2 separate regions of the Homo sapiens genome follow, and region 1 is linked to region 2. The links are contacts of gene promoters, found by promoter capture Hi-C in blood cells and fetal thymus (Javierre and others, 2016). All regions are on one chromosome and are shown on one strand. Each heading gives the region's core, a stretch centred on a gene start or on the middle of the fragment in contact. The rest is flanking DNA. Distances are from core to core; before and after follow the strand shown. Region 1 overlaps TRABD2A (TraB domain containing 2A). Region 2 holds the start of SUCLG1 (succinate-CoA ligase GDP/ADP-forming subunit alpha).

Region 1 (4,614 bases), core at 1,136-3,635, 380 kb after region 2:
TTTCTTCATTCCTTTTCCTTTCTCTTTCTCATACTGAATCATCTCAATCAACCTATCTTCATGTATGTTGATTCTTCTTCTGCCAGTTCAAATCTACTGTTCAGCCCCCGTAGTGAATTTTTCATTTCAGTTCCTACACTTTAAATTCCAGAATTCCTATTTGGTTCTTTTAAAATAATTTTTATATTTTTATTGATATTCTGTATTGGTGAGATATTGTTCTCAAACTTTCCTTTAATTCTTTAGATATGGTTAATTTTAGGGTTTTTTTTTTTTTTTTTTTTTTTGGAGATGGAGTTTCACTCTTGTGGCCCAGGCTGGAGTACAGTGGTGTGATCTCAGCTTACTGCAACCTCTTCCTCCCAGTTTCAAGCAGTTCTCCTGCTTCAGCCTCCCAAGTAGCTGGGATTACAGGTGTGCGCCACAACGCCTGGCTAATTTTTGTATTATTAGTAGAGATAGGGTTTTGCCATATTGGTCAGGCTGGTCTCAAACTCCTGACCTCAGGTGACCCACCTGCTTCAGCCTCCCAAAGTGCTGGGATTATAGGCGTGAGCCTCCGCACCTGGCCTCTTTTAGTTTTTTGAACATATTTATAATAACTAGTGTTAAAGTCATTTTCTAGTAAGTCCAAGATATTAACTTCCTCAAGGACAGCTTCTATTGGTTGCTTGTTTTTCCCTGGGTATGGGCCATACTTTCTAGTTTTGCTCTGTGTCTTATAATTGTTTTTATTGAAAACTAGACATTTAAATAATATACCAACTCTGGAACTCATCTCCTCTCCCTTAGTCCCAGGTGCATTGTTGTTGCTGTTTGTGTAGTGATTTTCTAGGACTAAGTCTGTAAAGTCTGTATTCTTTGTTGTGTGTGATCACTGAAGGATCTGCTCAGTTAGTTTAGTGGCTGGCTAATGACTGAACAGAGATTTCCTTAAATTCCTTGCAAGTTTCCCAACCTTTGCAGAGGGGCTGTGTGAGTTTGGGGGCATGTATTTGATGCTTCAACAGGCAATTTATGACTTTGCCTTAGCTTTCACACTCTGCTTACACAGAGCCTCAAGATCAGCCAGAGGTGAGAGATTAGGACCTTCTCAGGTCTTTCCTGGGCATGTGCACAGCTCTTCTCATGCATGTGACTCTCTAGGAATATTTTAGAGCTTTTCTATACCCCCTATGGGATTTTGCTTTTAAGTTTTTTGGGCAGCCCCTTGTAAGCTTCAATTAATATTGCTATTTCCAGCAACTATGATGTTAAACAGCTGCTACTGATTGTTTTCAACACACACCCTAAGAATAGGGCTATTCACACAGAGCAAGCTCTGAGTCAGGTCAAATGAAGACAAGCTTGGGAATGGAAATTTCAGGGAACTATTGGACATGTCAAATAGTGATGATTCTTTAAGGATGGAGCTTTGGAGGAACTTTGAACCCATTCTGTCCCCTCCAGTAACCATTAGGCAAACAGTTTTCACAGCTACTGTAGTTCAAGGCTCCTGATTTTCAAGGCTACTGTGAAGCTGGGAAAAGGGAGATAAAAACAGAACAAGTTAAAATGCCACAAAGCCCACTGCTTCTATCAAAATTCATCCAGTTTTCTTAAATAAACACTTCTAGGATTGTTGCAAGCCTTTAATTAATTTCCAGAGCTGTGGAAAAGTTGATTTTGACCATTTTTTCCAGTGTTCTTATTGCTGCTATGGAAGAACAGGTTTTTGGAGGCCCTCACTCCACCATTTCAGAATTGCTTCTCTCCAACCCCCTATCTTACTGGTAAAGAAACTGAGTGACATGACTTGTTTAAGTTTATGAAGTTAGCAGAAAAATATGAAACAAAGCCCAGCCCAGCAAATGATCTTTCTGCATACTGTCCAGCCTCTGGCATTTCTATCCTCATTTCCTGAGGCTGCAAAGAATTCTGTGTCAGAGTCACTCCGGGGGAGAGAATTTATTTCAAGAAGCCCACAAAAGAAAATAATTGTCCTATTCTGTCTCCATGTGTGCTGCTAACAGTCAATAACAGCTGATGTATCAGCCCCAGGCCTTGGACTTGGGAGGCTCATTGTCAGGTAGAAGAGTAAAGACAAACATATTTGTAGTGAAAGTTTACAAAGTGAAAAGTACCAGAAAGAAGTTGGGATTAAGTATGAAATTCAGAGGACAAAAATGTTTTCCCAGCTGGCTTATGTGTGGAGAGAGCTATGGGTGATGTCACATGCACCAGCTCATCCAGCAACATTTCAACCATGCTGGATGCTCCATCCCCAGCTGGAGCCACTCTGCAACTGAAATAAGTCAAGGAAGGTGTCACTCCCTTCATCTCGCTTCATGACTAACACAGGCCCTAAGCAGGGGCTCACCTCAACATTCCCTTCTTGGGAGAAGCCTCAGATTTCAGAGGCTAATCAGAGGTGACCCACTACTCACCAGCTCCAAAGGCAAAGAAGAAGCCTTTGTCAGGGAACTCCTCCAAAAGGGCCTTCACCCGCTTCCCTATTCTCTCATTCCGCTTGTAGATCAGCTCCCGGCGTAAGTAGCTGTCAATCTCCTGAGCAGTGATGCGCTCCTGAGGTGGTAGCGTGGCATTAATAAAATTGGGAACCTCCACCAAAATAAAGAGAAAAAAAAATAAGGGGCAACAGAGTTATTAACAAAGTTACTTCATTGGAGCATCAAATCCCCCAACCTAGATGGTCAAGACGTTGTCAAGAGAAGAGTGACACCATTCTTGGAGTTTCCTGTCTGCTATGTTTCCCACTCTATCACATTCCCTGTAACCAAAGTGAAAAAAATATTAAGTGAAGTGCATTGAATGAACTCTTACACTATTTACAACTGCACTTCTGTTTTAGTTAAATGGCTCTGTCTGATGCCGTGTGTTTATAAAAAAAAAAAAAGGACACTGTCTTTGCACAGTACATCCATAGTTTTAACTTGTGTGATTCATACATGCTTTTCTTATAAAAATAGTCTTATATAGTTACATATTTTAGATTCTATTACCGAAAACATGAAATTTGTATAAACACTTAAATGTTTTATAAATCCTCTACTTTACATTTTCATTATTTCTCCACTTCCTATTTCTCTCTCTTGCTTTCCCCAATGTTCTTTGCCCTCCTGGCAAATATTTCACTGATTCTGGTATACATGTTAGCCAGTTTCAGTATTTTGGCTAATAACAGGATGAAAGTGCATCAAAATTGTGACAATCAGCGTGGTTCTTGCAGCCCAGGAGCTACAGGTAAGGCTGGCACTCTGTGTTTTCTCCCCACCCCCTCAGCTGTCTGGCTTCCCAAACCTCAGCCTCCCACTCCTCCCCCTGGGTGCATGCTCTCTCCTCCACCCAGGGACTTAACAATGTTACCCATTATCTTGGTCAGTATCTACCCTGCCTGCTGCTGCTGCTTCCAGTAGCCTCTCAAAAAGCTTTCCAAAGTCCTCAGACTCTGTGACAGCATTAACTTCCATCTTATGGATAACAGATCTCCTTTTGCGACGGCCTCGAAATGATATTCTTTCATTTTCAAATCGACAGCCTTCATCTTCTACTCTGTCATCTTTTTTTTTAATCATGTCATTTATGTAAGATCCCCTGCCCATTTCCCAAAATCTCTTCTCTTCAGCAGAGCCCCCCTCTCTACCAGCCTCTCTACAGAGGCAGCGTCAGATACACAGGGTGACCTCCCTCTGACATCCTGCTCCACCTTCTAAATTCCAAACATCACCCAAAGCCTGCACCACTCCCTGCTGGCCAGCCTGGCCCTCACTCACAGTGACAGCACATTCCCTGACCTCCTGTAGGGGCCCTGTGGGCAGAACAGATATGGGAAAGCCACAGGAGAAAAATGCATAAGACATCTGTATTATCTGCTCCATCAGCCTCACCATTTGCCCACGTAATGACCAAATCCTCCGCCCACATTAACTTTTTTCTGCTGCTTCAAATGTCAATTTCCCAATTGATCTTGACTTTTCTCCCCCCTTCCCTACCCTCAGCAAGAGTGCAGGTAAGATTTATCACCACCACCAACTCTATTTTTCCTTCTTTAATGTGTTTCTTGTTCTCCCTTTCCTCCTGCTTCACTTTGTCTCAATTTGACTTTTTTTTCCTCTAGATTTTTGGGGATGCTCCTTACATCTTTTGAGGCTTCTGTCATTAATGAAATGTCACCTTTCTGGGCTGATGCTGCACTCAGCCTGTACTGTCCTTCTCCCCATTGCTGCTATTCCTCCTTCAGCTCTCATGTTCACACATGTCTCCTTATGGTTGGGTCCCCAGATTTAACATAGACCTGTACAGCATCACCCACACCCACTAGCTCCTGTCTCCCCTCTCCAGTGTCTTCATGCATGTGGACACCAGTCCTGGGTGGGGGAAACAACACACTCCCCTACCTCAGAAGTTTAGCTGGTGTTTGCTATTTGCATGTAGTCCTAGAGAGGAGGCGAAGGCACCATGGCTTGTCCCATGGGAAGCCTGTTGATAAAAGCATAACAAAGATCCGTACCACTTCCCTCCTGGAAGGAGACCATGATCTTCTGAGGCTGAGCAGCTACTTCCTTCCACTCAATGGCCCACAGGTAAGGCCTGAGCTGGGCAAACACTCAATCC
Region 2 (4,808 bases), core at 1,166-3,665:
TCTTGGCCAGGCTGGTCTTGAACTCCTGACCTTGTGATCTACCCGCCTCAGCCTCCCAAAGTGCTGGGATTACAGGCATGAGCCACCGTGCCAGGCCACTTTTCCTTTTTTCATAAGCTATAAAACAGGGCTCCGGAAGGCATCTACCAGTGTTCACTTGAGTTTTTTCTGTGGCTGTTAACTCTAATCAATATTGCAACACTATGACCTTCAGCAAGTAATGTACCATAAGTTGAAACTTAACAGAGGGAACAAAATTCCCTAACATCTGTAGCTCTATTAGCTTCACAGACTAAATAATTTCTGGTCCCTTTTTAAAAAAAAAGTTTGCAAGGTGATGTTGTAGCTGCTATTTTTCTAGTGGGAGTGAAAATGGGCTCGGAAATGTGGCATGGGAAAGAGGAGTTAGAGTTTTGTGAATTTAGAGGTGTTTACACATTAAGCATTGTTGTCTGTAACCCCTCTTAATATAGAATACATCTTGGTTTAAATCTCAGACCCGTAATAACAAGTTAATCACATGACTTGAATAATTCAAGCCCACTCCAGTAACAAAACTAAACCAGATGGTCACTCTAGGGCCAAATGATCCTGGGAGTCTAGGAAGAACACACTTCCAGTTCTGTGGGAAGAGGATTGAGAGGACTGCTAAGGGTGGAGTAAGGAACTAGATCTTTTAGACACTCTTCCTTTATTCTCTAGATTTTTCTAGACAGCAGACCTACCTGAGGCTAGGATCTTTCAGAACCTCAGACTAGCAAGACCACAGAAGCGAAAGACACAGGTGGGCAACTTCTTCCTAGGGTTTCCCACCACAGTGGCTGTGCTGCACATCTGATCTTCTACATTCTAACCCACTATCTATTCAAATTAAGCTGGTTTAAAACCATATCCAATATACTTCATTCTTGGTGCTCAAACTTTATTGACCTGAGTGATTACTGGGTATAATGAATTCTTTTTGTCCTTCTGCCTACAACACTCTCAAGAATCTCCAGAAAGCTTTACCAAACAAACCATTTCATACTTGCTAACGTTATCTAGCCAGACCTTTGTCCTCAAGTGATTGGCAACTAAGTGTTAGCTATTGAGTGCACACTCATCAATGTACACTTTCAGAATGTAATCTTCTCAAGAAAGGAATTAAGTCTCATAAAATATTCAGTACAAGCAGAATTAAGAGCAAAGCGGAAAAAGAAAACTAACTTTGAGTGTTTGTTACATACGAGATGCTTTATATAAATTGCTCCACTTATTCTGCAGTGAACCCAGATCATCCTGTACATCATCATTGCTAAAATGCACATTTTTTTTCACTTTTTAAAAAACCAGGATACATGTGACAACCACTGGTGTGTCACAGTTTTAATAAGCAATCGTTCTTCATTGTTAGTGGTAAACAAAATAATGGTCCACCTTACAAGTGATGGTGCTTCAGGCCCCTTAAAATGTGTTAATATTTTCATGTGATTGGAAACACTGAAAAACAGATTAAGTGTCCAGGGTTATTACACAGACTGAAAAGGGACTAGCCAGACTTCAAACCCTGATGTGGCTGATTCCAAAGTTTCTTTCTACTATAACCTACCTGACAAGCACAGAGACTTTGAATATGGCAAGAATTTTCCATAGTCAGCGTGTCTCAAAGACTAGCAACCTTGGGTACTAAGTTTTCGGGAACGGATGTGTCCACAAATCGCCTGGTGGAGACACTGCAAATAAGCTGGTTTAGGTCCCAGCCAACCATAAGCTTCTAGTAGTCTATGCGGCTATGCCGACCCCACTCCGTGTGCAGAAACCATCTTTCCCTGACATACAATCCTGCAGAGGGGGAATTCGAAGTGCAGGACCTTTCCGTACTAGGGACAGCCTCATCCCCCAACTTCCTACTGAGACACTCTTCCTCTACCTCTCAACCCAGACCCTTACCTTCCCCACCAAGTTCACCTTGGACCTCTTCATCCCCAACTCCAAATAAGGCCAGTCTAGACGCCACCCCCATCCTGTCATTTGTCACCGCGGGGCCGAGAGCAAGCTCCCAAATTTGCAGGGCTCCCGGACCCGAATCCTGGCTCAGCCACCCAATATCTCCATCTGCCAGCGGCCTAAGTCATGCCCCCCGCCCCACGTATCCAGCAAAGCTCCTTCCACCGTAGGGGTCCCCGACTCGAAGCCGGAATCCCAAGCGGCTCCCAGGCCCCCGCCGAGGTCCAGCCCTGAGGGCCCAGCCGCGGCCTGGGCCAGGAGGTTGGGTCCGGCGGGGCCAATAACCCGCGGGCGCCAGGAAGACAGTACTGGCTGGACTCACGGAGGAAGCTGCGCGACAGGAGACGGGCGGCGGCGAGGCCGCTGCTGCCGGAGACCATGGTAGCGATGTCAGCGGCAGCGGCAAGGGTTGCGGTCATACGCCAATGACACTCCCAGGCCCCCGGGGACCTCCCAGGGGCAGAGGCCGGAGGAGGCAGAGGGTGGCCACAGCAGTCGCCTGAACAAATTTCCCTTTACAGAGGATTCTTCACGAAACAGCGGGAATGGCAGGTGAAGACAAAGAGGCATCCTATCGGAGAGGCAGATAATAACTCGGCTCCTTCCTAGAAATGTGGGTTTGATTAACATTAATTATAACAGCAGCTGAGGGAAAACCCCACGCGAGACTGGCCAGCGCGTGGCATTGTGGGCAATGTAGTCTGACGGCCGCGACTGGTTCGTAGCTTTTGAGTGAGGCGGCGGGAAGGGAGCGAGGGAAGAGCGGCAGTGAGACCGGGGAGACAAGGGACTTGAAGACTAGGAGGGAAGAAACAGCGAGGTGAGGTGCGAAGAGCAGTGCCAGAACTTTGTATCCCAGGCCCATCTCCTTCCCCCTTCGTTTTCCTCGTTTGCTATTAGAGAGAATAATATTTCTCACCGCGTACCTGTGCCTGGACCCGGAAGGGTTGCCGCTGGGGACGGGAATTCGAACTGGCACTGGTGGCCTGTGAAGGGAAAGATGTGATGAGAAAGACCAAAACCTATCTTACTGACAGTTAACTTCTTGGAATGTGAATTTTTTTAGTTAAATAATCATGCAGTCTTTGACTAGCACTAAGTGCATGAGTGTTTATTCCCTGAGGATCCTAAGGGCTGAAATTCGAGGTCAAATGTGACTTTGCTCCCTGATTGGACAAACAGTTCCCTCTTCTGTAACAGCTTTAGAAGGAACCTCAGAGAGTCCCAGAGTCAAAAGGTAAACAAGAGATGAAGTAATCTGCGTCTCTGCCGAAAATCGTGCTCCTGAGATTCCTCATCAGAATTGTCAATAAAATTGCAATCCTAATTTACTTAGGTAGTCATTATAATTGGCACTGAGCTGTGGGATGGATGAGTGGGATTACCCCAGGAGATTGCCCAATACTTCCTTTATGATCCAAATATTGTCATTAACAGGTTGGACTTCACTGCAAATAAACTCCTCCCTCATGGATCATGTTCTTGTGATAACTAAATTCCTCAGAGTTAAATAGTATCAGTGGTTTCCAGATATATCCATTATAACAAAATGGACATTTTTATGGCAAATAAATAGAAAATCCCTTGCTATTTTAAATAGCAAAATTATTCCTGAGCTGTCGCTTGATAAGTTATATGTTTAGTTTCATTTAATTGATAAAATGCATGATGACAAAAAATATAATTTCAGTACACTTTTAATGAAAATTTGTATTTCCATGAAGACGGGGATTTTTGTTTGTTTTGTATCCTGGAGTATCCCCAGCACCTAGAACAATGCCTTACACAAATAACTCATCGTTGAATTGAATTGATATATATAGGAGAAATAGTAGTATATAGATTATTTTTTGGATCCACAGGCAATGTTTGATGGACTTAGGATATTTCAACCTCTTGTAATAACTGCACCCCTGTGGCAGACCAGGTCTCACTAACGCAGGCCTCCATAACAATGTTTCAGTGCTGACTGAGTGGTTAAGTTAAATATTAAAAGCCAGTGCCCTTATACAAAGGCTGAGATGTAACAGAAACCCACCAAGGGTTTTGCCTAGGCCTTTCCTGGGCCTTGAAGCATGACAAATTAATGAAGAAATTCTTAACAGGACCCATTTAGGATTAAACAAGTTTTATTGGAGGTCCGAAGAAACTCCCCAGGCCTCCACAAACAAGTTTATTGGAGGTCTGAAAGAACTCTCCAAACCTCTGTGATTTAGCAGGGGATAAGATAAGGGTAATCACCCCAGCACCTAAACCCATGTAGATTAAGTAAATTTATTGAGGCTTCAGAGGATGGTCTTCAGTACTCAGACCTTAGTTATAGATTAAAAGAAGTTAATCACTTATGTCTTTAGATAAATGCACACTTACAAGTAAACATATAGCTTAGAAGGTATATAAGCTCTGGAAAACTGTAATTTTAAGTTGGTCTGATGATAATTTCCAGGCCTTCTCCCTGTAATCGGTTGCAGAAATAAAAACTCTCTTCCTCCCCAGTTCATCTACATCTCATTATTGGGCCACAAAAAATAGCAGCCCAACCCTCAGTTTGGTCCGGGAACACCCCTACCTCAATTCTGTAGCTCATAGGTAGGGGACAACCACACTAGTCAATACCACACCACTCATCTTTGTATGCAGATTGAGTTTGGAAATCAGACAGGTCTGGGTTCAAATTCCAACTCTGCCACTGGCTACATGACCTCTGGGTTTCAGGTTTTATTACTGAGATGGGTATGAAACTCCCTATTTCATAAGAGTGTTGTGAACATTTAATACATTTAGTATATAAAGCTACTGTCACCTTGTACCAAATAGTCGAT

The links. The method cuts DNA at HindIII sites, captures the fragments that hold promoters and counts their contacts. A CHiCAGO score of 5 or more calls a contact.
Region 1: a fragment that was not itself captured here is called in contact with the fragment with the promoter of SUCLG1 in region 2 in 3 of 17 cell types (M1 macrophages, M2 macrophages and M0 macrophages); the score reaches 9.2 in M1 macrophages.

Annotation. Positions count from the first base shown.
Region 1 is chr2:84,836,723-84,841,336 of GRCh38, forward strand. TRABD2A (TraB domain containing 2A) reads right to left here. Exons shown (of 7, transcript NM_001277053.2): 4 at 2,427-2,601. Among named protein-coding and RNA genes, the nearest start is that of TRABD2A, 42 kb to the right of the region's middle. The HindIII fragment of the contact is 2,082 bases long and covers 1,345-3,426 here.
Region 2 is chr2:84,456,865-84,461,672 of GRCh38, forward strand. It overlaps SUCLG1 (succinate-CoA ligase GDP/ADP-forming subunit alpha), which reads right to left and starts at 2,416. Exons shown (of 9, transcript NM_003849.4): 1 at 2,309-2,416. The coding sequence starts at 2,405. It also overlaps a transcript of DNAH6 not described here. RefSeq lists an enhancer at 2,453-2,592 and a silencer at 2,773-2,962. The HindIII fragment of the contact is 6,917 bases long and covers 1,749-4,808 here.